Regions from separate parts of the Homo sapiens genome. Here regions 1 and 2 are each linked to region 3. The links are contacts of gene promoters, found by promoter capture Hi-C in blood cells and fetal thymus (Javierre and others, 2016). All regions are on one chromosome and are shown on one strand. Each heading gives the region's core, a stretch centred on a gene start or on the middle of the fragment in contact. The rest is flanking DNA. Distances are from core to core; before and after follow the strand shown.

Evidence for each region. Contacts are between HindIII fragments. The CHiCAGO score rates a contact against its expected background, and 5 or more counts as called.
Region 1: a fragment that was not itself captured here is called in contact with the fragment with the promoter of NSMCE3 in region 3 in 5 of 17 cell types (non-activated CD4 T cells, total CD4 T cells, fetal thymus and 2 more); the score reaches 7.7 in non-activated CD4 T cells.
Region 2: a fragment that was not itself captured here is called in contact with the fragment with the promoter of NSMCE3 in region 3 in 1 of 17 cell types (fetal thymus); the score reaches 8.5 in fetal thymus.

The regions. Positions count from the first base shown.
Region 1 is chr15:28,093,380-28,096,319 of GRCh38, forward strand. The region is part of intron 1 of OCA2 (OCA2 melanosomal transmembrane protein); the gene reads right to left. Among named protein-coding and RNA genes, the nearest start is that of OCA2, 4.5 kb to the right of the region's middle. The HindIII fragment of the contact is 3,761 bases long and covers 1-2,940 here.
Region 2 is chr15:28,115,600-28,118,668 of GRCh38, forward strand. It overlaps HERC2 (HECT and RLD domain containing E3 ubiquitin protein ligase 2), which reads right to left. Exons shown (of 93, transcript NM_004667.6): 87 at 1,414-1,555; 88 at 1,066-1,260. Among named protein-coding and RNA genes, the nearest start is that of OCA2, 18 kb to the left of the region's middle. The HindIII fragment of the contact is 5,691 bases long and covers 1-3,069 here.
Region 3 is chr15:29,268,531-29,271,625 of GRCh38, forward strand. It overlaps NSMCE3 (NSE3 component of SMC5/6 complex), which reads right to left and starts at 1,292. Exons shown (of 1, transcript NM_138704.4): 1 at 1-1,292. The coding sequence starts at 1,175. The coding sequence ends at 261. All of the region lies in intron 2 of ENTREP2 (endosomal transmembrane epsin interactor 2), which reads right to left. RefSeq lists enhancers at 587-1,088, 1,089-1,588. The HindIII fragment of the contact is 8,019 bases long and covers 1-2,788 here.

The DNA of each region.
Region 1 (2,940 bases), core at 173-2,672, 1.2 Mb before region 3:
CAGCCTGGGCGACAAGAGCAAAACACCGTCTCAAAAAAAAAAAAAGAAAGAAAGAAAAAAGAAAACAGAGACAACACCGCCAGCTGCCTAGGACTCGAGAGGGTGGTTCACTCCTGCATCACCAATGGGAATGTAAAATTGTACAGCCACTCTGGAAAGCAGTTTGACAGTTTTTAAAAAAAAACTAAAATTGCAACTACCAGCCAACAATTGCACTCCTGGACATTAATCCCAGAGAAATGAAACTTTCATTCACACAAAACCCTACACGCAAATGGTCATAGAAGCTATATGAAAAATTGGAAGCCACGCAGCCGTCTGTCCGTAGGGGAGTGTGAAATAGGCTGCGGTGCATGCATGCCGGGAAGACCACGCCACAATCAAAAGGAACAGACAATTCATACACAGCAACGTAGAGGAATCCAGAGTGAAAATCCTCAGTGAAAAAAAGCAAGTTCCAACAGACTATTTACTCTGATTCCATGACTACAACATTCTTGAAACGGCAAAGTTATATCAATGGGGAACAGGTTAGTGGTTGTCCGGGGTTGAGTAGGGGCTCTCGTTCCACCTCACTTCCTGCCTCTTCCCTGGGAGACAGAGGCCTCTGCTCACCCAGAACTCTCCCTCTTTCTCACACATTCCTCATCCAGTTCTTCCAAACACATCCTAACTCCTCCTAGTCCCACCTGGTCATCGCCTCTCATGCAGATGATGGAGCACTCCAATCCCACAGCCTGTCCCTTAGGGGACCCCAACACCCTAGCACACAGCCTGTCTCCTAGGGGACCCCAACACCCTAGCACACAGCCTACCTCTGGGGGACCCCAACACACTAGCACACAGCCCGTCCTCTGGGGTGACCCTCCCTTCACCCCAGCCCGTGGCTGCACTCTCACGGGAACCACAGCTTCAGCCTGGCTTTGCTTTATTGGGCCCCATGCGCTTGACTTGCCTAGGGCAGGGCCACCCTGGGCAGAGCTCCCGCCCGTAGGGACACCTGCAGCTGGCGGGAGAGGGGTAGGGGAGCTGTAAGCCGGCGGCACAGGGCGGAGTATGCCACAGCCCCAACCCACCCCTCCAGGTCCTCCCCGCGATGGCGCCCAGGACCCTCCTTCCAAGCAAGACTCACACCGAAGTCACCAAATTTTAGAAAGAAAAAATAGATAGTTGTGGCTTATTTTTAGAAAAAAAAAATAGATGGTTCAGAGTCGGTGGAACCTTCCAGTCCTCACACTCAACCCCAAATCGTTCGTGTGGGCTACTGCCGGCCCTCTCTCCGGCTCTGCGCTCTTTCTGCCTGCAACCGTGCCCCCGAACTCGGGCCCTGCGAGGTGGGGGTGGGCCCGGGCCCCTCCTGCCGCCCCTGCTGCCAGCACCGTTCTCTCCGAGGCCCTCAACGCCCCGCCGTGCCGTGGCCTTCAGAGCGCGCCAGACGCTCACCAAGCCTGCCCGAGCCCCGCCTCCCGCAGCCGTGCCCAGGGCGGAGTGGGGCGACGGCACCGGTGCCAGGACCGACAGAGGCCAGGGCGCGGCGCCGGGCGTGGTCCTGACACCTGCCCTGCCGGGAAGGGGACGGCGTTCCACGCCTGGGCCCTTCTCCACTGCGTACAGGAGCCTGGGTCACCTGCTCGGCCCAAGAAAAGGCTCCAGGCCTGCGGGTGTGAATGAGCAGCAGCCAAGAGAGCGGTGCTGCCGGCGCTCAAGCTAGGCCGGGTCACCGCCTCCTGCCCAGGTCCAGGCAGCCCCGGCCTTTCCCGCTGGTACTGGCACGCCCGTGGCCGCACGGCTGAGTGCTCCGGGCATGGTGGGTCTGCGGGACTCGGAGCAGAGCTCGAGCTGGCGGATCCCCGGTTGGCGCCCGGCGGGAGGGCAGGAGTGGCCCAGCCAGGCCGCCCTGCGCACTCCCCGCCCGGGTGCGCCCGGGGGACCGCGGCCCTCCCACCCCGCCCCTGTGAAACGACAGCCGGCAGCAGGCGCCGCACGCCGACTTCACAGTGGCGGCGATCAACAGCGTGTGGAAAACAGCTTCTTCGTAAATCTTAAGAACATTGTGGCCGGGCGCGGTGGCTCACACCTGTAATCCCAGCAATTTGAAAGACCAAGGCGGACGGATCACTTGAGGTCAGGAGTTCGTGACCAGGCTGACCAACATGGAGAAACCCCGTCTCTACTAAAAATACAAAAATTAGCCGGGCGTGGTGGCGCGTGCCTGTAATCCCAGCTACTCGGGAGGCTGAGGCAGGAGAACCGCTTGAACCAGGGAGGTGGAGGTGACGGTGAGCCGAGATGGCGCCATTGCACTCCAGCCTGGACAACAAGAACGAAACTGTCTCAAAAAAAAAAAAAAAAGAACATTGTTCTTCGAGTTCTTTAAATATCTGACATAATACCGGCAAGGAACGAGAAGCACCAGGTTTAGGCGCTGAGGTGAAAATTTGGCTGTTGAAAGGCAGTCCCTCTGCAGCCAACTCCCCTCTGGTGGACAGTGTCTAACATCCAGAGAAAACACCCGTCACTGAACGCTCCCCTCCCCACAAAGCGCTGCTTGGCCCCAAATCGTCCCTAATGCGCTGCTCAGCCCCAAGGCGTCCCTCTGAGCGAGAAACCGCCCCTGGCTATGCTTGCAGGGGCCTGGCTGGGTCCACAGGGCATGGCTGTGTCTCTCGGAGCACGGCCCTTCTCTCCGGGGGCCTGGCTGCGTCTGCAAAGGCGTCAATGTGTCTCCGGGGGCGTAGCTTGTCTCCGGGGCGTGGTCGTGTCTCCGGGAGGTGGCTGGTCTCGGGGGCGTGGCTTGTCTCCAAGGCGTGGCCGTGTCTCTGGGGGCATGGCTTGTCTCCGGGGCGTGGTTGTGTCTCCTGGGGCGTGGTCGTGTCTCTGGGGCTTGGTAGTGTCTCCGGGGGCATGGCCTGTCTCCGAGGTGTGGTCGTGTCTCCGGGG
Region 2 (3,069 bases), core at 460-2,959, 1.2 Mb before region 3:
CTCACTCACACACGCCACTGACAGCAGCTCCACACTCAGGACTCAGAGCCTTCTGAAGCAGCAACACCCACATCATAGGTCTAGGCCCTTCCTCAAGACCGCCTGTCCTGCTCTAAATCTATCCTTTTGTGCCTAAAAGCCTCTAACTCTTCACATCCTTTCTGCACGCACACTAGTTTAAGCCACACAGTGGCCAATTCTTCTTCTTATGACAGCAAAGAGCTGGAACTTCCCCACGGGAGTGTCCTCCAGGGAGCTACAGCCCTGCCCAGGAGGTGCTGGCTGTGGTGGGACGCACAGCCGAGGACACCCTGCACACCCTCAGTGGGACAGGAAGGAGGGACTGGCCAATGGCGAAGACCTCACCCCACTCTGATCCCAAGTCTCAGATAAACACTGAAGATGCAGAAACAGAATCTCCCATCTTCTGAGTACCCGAGGCAGTCTCCAGTCCTCAGCACGTGGCCGGGGCTGGCTCTGCCAGTGCCTGCAGCTGTGCACAGAGCTTCCGACGGTCCACCACCGTCAGGCCCTCAATGCTAGGCACGGAAGTCAACAGCACCTCGTTCGCTTCCACAATGTTGGTGAAAGGCACGATCAATATTAAAAGTCTTTTCTTTTTCTTTTTTTTTTTTTTTTTGATACAGAGTGTTGCCCAGGCTGGAGTGCAATGGTACGATCTCAGCTCACTGCAACCTCCGCCTCCCGGGTTCAAGCAATTCTCCTGCCTCACCCTCCTGAGTAGCTGGGACTACAGGTGCATGCCACCACAGCCAGCTAATTTTTTTTGTATTTTTACTAGAGACGAGGTTTCACCACATTAGTCAGGCTGGTCTCGAACTCCTGACCTCAGGCAATCTGCCTGCCTCAGCCTCCCAAAGTGCTAGGGTTATAGGCGTGAGCCACCGCGCCTCACCCTAAAAGTCATTTTTATTGGTAACAGTCTCAAAAACTAAAAGCAGATATTCAAGATATCTACTGTCACTCCTCAAACAGATAGTACATTTTAACTCAAGAGCAGGCACAGGCCACAGCGACACAGTCTCAAGCGGCCGAGAAGCTCACCCAGGAAGCGGAACATGCTGCTGTGCACGGGTGCTCTGGCGGCCGGGCTGAGCAGGTAGCAGTCTCGGTTGGCCCCAGACTCATCCCTCCCGTTGGGTGTCACGATCAGCAGGGGCGTGAGTCCGTTCTGCAGCTCCTCACAGATCTCAGCTATGGACTCGCTGTAGCCGCCCCCACAGTCATCCACAGATTCACCTGCAGGGGAGAAGCAGCCACTCGAAGTCCCCTCACACAGTCCTGTGTAAAGAGAGCCCCAACGCTCCCACACCATGTGGCCTCTGTGCTCCCTGTGGGCTCAGGCGACCACTGCCGGGGACACAGGTGCTCCAGCACGTGGCAAGTTCTCACCCACAAACTTGACTTTCCAGACACGGTGAGGAAGGAGGAGGCTGTCGGGACCAAACGAGCTCATCTTAGCACACATCTGCCCAAAGACAGACTTGGTGCCGTCGGGGCCGGCCAGCCCGCCTTTGCTCCTTGATCGTTTGACCTGGAGAGGAGGAAGCAAGCAAGCGTGAGGCCGCTGCCGCAGCAGGAAGCACACAGTCGGGGATATGCGGCACTGGCGAATGCACGAGGAGGAGGCACCGTGCATGGGCCCCTCCCTGGTCACACACCTGCTTGTGTGGACGCCAGGCAGACCCTGCCGTCTGGGGCGCTCGACTGTGGACACCCGAGACCGCTGCCTCACCCCATTGGGCATGTCGCCAGTGATGTGCCCAGCAGCCCCCAGGACTAGTGTGTCTGAACAAACACACCTTCCAACACGACACACACCACCACCACGTCCACAGCTGCGGCCCGGCAGCACCACCCTGGCACGGACCATCCTCACACCCTAAGCACTGCTGCTACTTCACCATCTTGCCACGACCTCATGAAATAAGACACCAGGAACTCCAAAAGCAGCTCCCCCAGCAGACCAGAACAGACTCCCGGCACTCAAAGATTCAACCCAATGCCCCTGAGACTGAAGCAGACACAGTGAGTGAGTGCCTCAGCCAGGACCAGCCCTTCCCCACATCTGCTTCCACCCATCCCATTTCCAAGCCTTGGGGCCACTCAGCCTCCCCAACACAGGCAGTCACTCCCTGCCCATCCTTCTCATCCTAAGCTACAATTGCTAAAGGCTCAGGGGCCTCCAATTCCCAAAGACACCAGGGCAGGAGCCCTAGGGCCCCGCCGCAGCAGGACCTCGGCACATCGGAGGGCAGGTGGCCGAGGCTGTGCATCAGAATCATCTGGGAAGCCCAGTCTGGAAGGATGTCAAAAAGAAAAATTGAAGAAAAAATGGTCCTGAGAATGTATTTTGATGACTCCTCCAGTGAAGCTCTCTTCACCTTTAGCTCACTTAAAGTTGAGTTTAAACAGCTTACAGAGCAGGCTGCCATAACCAAGACTAAAAATACAAGAAGAATGACAGGAGCCACAGTTGCCTGTAGAATGAACTTGTCTGCGTGCCACACACACGGCTAGTGTTCACAGACGTGAGTTCCTGGAAACTCGCGGCAGCTTGTTAAGGCTCCATCATGCCCAGAGGAGACTAGGCTACAAGAAAAGAACAGGACATGCCCTATGTCACGGCGGCTGTGTGAGAGGAGAGGTGCACCCAGCTCCCCGAAGCCCACGGGGCTGCCTCTCCTCCATGACGACACCCACTAGTAGAGGCTGTCTGCACTCAGAGGCTGCAGAAAACAGCAGCCATAAGGCTGGAGGCAGACAGGCTCCTGCGGGACAGCACTTTCTCTGCTCAATAGAAACACAGATGATTTTAACTGTCTTTAATCTGAATTCCCTAAATTTTCAGAAATGTGCATGCAATAACTCTGTAATAAATTTTTAAGTATAAAAAAGTTTTTATGTAGTGATGTTCAGATCCTGCTATAAAACTAAATAAAATTCCCAACAAACAAAACCTTCCAGTAAGATGACCTGTGTTCTGGAGTCTCTGAAACTATCCAGACAGCTGTGAGAGTCCCTCCCATGGCATCCTCTTGGGAGGCG
Region 3 (3,095 bases), core at 42-2,541:
TTCGTTTTACTAAGCTAGCAAAATTTTTTATACCAAAAAGAGTAAAATCAAAACAAATGCTCCTTTGTTTATAGATGAAAATCTGGAGCAAAATAACACAACATTAAAAAAACAAAACTTTGCAAACACATCCTAAAGCTACACACATTGAAGCGTTTACAGCAATATGCTCCCTGGGTTCGTTCTCCCTTCCCCCAATCCTCTAAACTGTGCCTTTGGGTCTCAGACCCTTGTCCCGGGGGTCCCTCTGAATCCACCTTTCAAGAGGATGGAGCTGGGCCACTAGGCTGAGGTCTGGCCCTGTTCTCCTCATCTGCCAAAGCCTCACAGTACTGCGCTGGCCAGTCCTTGGGGTCTTGATTATGGACCTTGGCCACAAACTTAAGAACTTTCATCTTGCTGGTTTCCAGGTTGGTTCGCGGGCCCCACTGGAATTCGTAGTCGACGGGGTCGGTGTGGGGTATCCGCCGGTATTCCAGGTAACGCTGTCGCACAAAGTCCTCAGTAATGAGTTTCTTTGGATCTCCGAAAATTAAATGCTTCTTGGTGGGGTAGACCCCTAAGCGCCGCAGAAAGTCCCAGGCTTCAGTTTCCTTGATGGTGTTGCCCTTCATAAAGATGAGCCCTAAGACGATCATCAGGAGGCCCGTAGTGGGCGTGCCTTGGTCACCCCTCATCTCGGCATCCTCCTCCACAGGCTCCAGGGTGTTGATGAGGATGTAAGTGTTGCTCTTGGGTTCAAGTTCCACCAGCTTATACCCGAAGACGTACTGGAGGCGCTCGGCGGCCCGTTTGAAGAGGTCGGGGAAGATGTCCTTGTAGTCCCCGATGACGTGCTTCAGTATGTCGGCCCGCTTGATCGGAATCTTCTTCTGGTCTTTAATCAGCAAGAACTGCACCAGCTCGGACACTTTCAGCTCCAGCTGCTTCTGGCTCCTGGGCCCCACGGCGGGGGCGGCCTGGGCCCGGCGGGCGCCCTGAGGCGAGGGGCCCTGCGACCCCTGCGAGCCGCCCGGCCCGCGGGACGTGCTCGGGGCCTCCTCGGCAAAGCCGTCTCTGAGAACCCGGGCGTCTTCCCCGGCCCGCGAAGCCCCGGGGTTTCCGCTATGGCTCCAGTCTCTGTCCCTCTCGGCCTGGCCGCCAGAGCGGCCCCGGTTCCTCGGTTTTTGCAACATGTCTCCGGCGGCAGGTGCCGGCGCACACTCCGGTAGGCAAGCAGCCGCGGCGGGGATTGCGGGTCGGCGACCCGCTAACGCCGGTGCCTGGAGGCGCGCGCAGTGTCGGCTGAGACTGCGTGCTGCGTCATGAAGCCTGCGCCTTGCGTCAGGGCGGCTGGGCGGTGCGCCTGCGCGGCTGCGGCGGGTACCAAAAGGAACAGCGTTTTCCGTGCAGCCCTGCAGGTCCGGGCGATGATTTTTAGTATAGTGAAGTGTTGTTACCAAACCATGCAAACAGAGAGCGAGAACCGAAACTCCTAAACAAGTGTGTCGCTAAATTCAGACCACACAGGCTCAGGCAAGTTTTACAGACAGTATTATGAGTTTCTAAATCGGGAGCATTTGTAAACGGAAAGAATTCAGAGGATGAACGTGTGAGAAAAAAAAAAGGTGAAGAGGAAGGGCCGACCGTGGAAGTAAAGTAAAAACATTTATTTCTACACAAAATGTAGAAGGACATAAAAGACCCAGAGGGCTCTTAGTTTTCGTCCCTCCACCCAATTTCATACCCTCCATCCCACTGCCCCCAGTTACTTTCTCTAATGCCCCGTGGAGTCTGTTAAAAACCAAAGTCGGCTGCAGGCTTTCTGCGCAAGCAGGACTTCAGTTTCACTATTTCCGTATTTATATTCTCTGCATTAAACTCCTTTAGCTAGACAACTATGAGAAGACCACAAAAAACGTGTCAGTATTAGGTAAATGTTTTAGCTTGGTCACATGGGTTTATCTTTTGGAAAACAACTGCTTTCGTCACAACCACAATTTTAGCAGAAATGGGTAAGAGGAATGCTGCAAACAAACGTGCACTCTCAAGAGATTACTACTTAATTTGGGGCATCACTGATCAAGAATTGCAATAATGTGGAGCTCTTAAATTTCTTAATTCATAATATATTAGCTTTGAGGAAAAAAAAGAGAACACTGGGGGATTTATCTCTCATCTATGATGTGATATACAGTCTCTACTGTATATTTTAATTGTGCAACTCAAGTAGCCAAAATGAGTCATTTCATTAACTCAAACCATCAGCAGTCTGCTGCCATGACTTCTACAGATCTTAGCAAATTTGTTTCTTCTCTATTTACTTGCAAAGAAGAAACTGAATTTCCCTGTGTCTTTTTAAAGCTACCCAGAAAGTGGATAAACTCTTCAAAGAACCAAATTGAGTTCCTCTTTAATGCAAATATATTCAAAGGAAAGCAATTTAGAACACATTATCTGAGTAATAGCATCAAACACAACCTTATTAAAATTTTGTTAATTGTTAGTAGCATAACACTTTTGTTTGTAATTCAGTAGGAAAATGCAATCTGATAATGGCACTGGAACTGCAATAGTAAATGTAAAATCATATTCCATGAACTAATGCAAGTATGCTAAAATCTGGTATGCAATGAGTAATAACTTACTGTTCCACACAAGATGCAACTATATCCTCAGGCATCAATTTTAATGACAAAGGCCTACTATGAAAAACAAATATATTATCAAGGCATTCATTTTTTTACAATGAGAAAATTCATCTGCTTCAGTTTCCTTGCAAATTAAAATCTGGACTTAGGTTCATAGAAGCTTCCTGCCATCTAGAATTCTGCAAAAGGTCCCTACTGCAGGATGTGGATGTTGTATTGAGGGAATAGAGAGACCGTCTCATATTGTTTTATATTGTTTTATACTCAGTACCTGTTTTAAGAAAAAACAACAAGGAAGTAAAACCAAATACAGGCAGCCCAGCGCCAGGCCCAAAACCAGGCCTGGGCCTGCCTGGCCTAAACCCAGTAGTTAAAAATCAACTCATAACTTAGAAACCGATGTTATTCATAGATTCCAGACATTGTATAGAAGAACATTGTATAAAGAACAGAACTGCCCTGTTC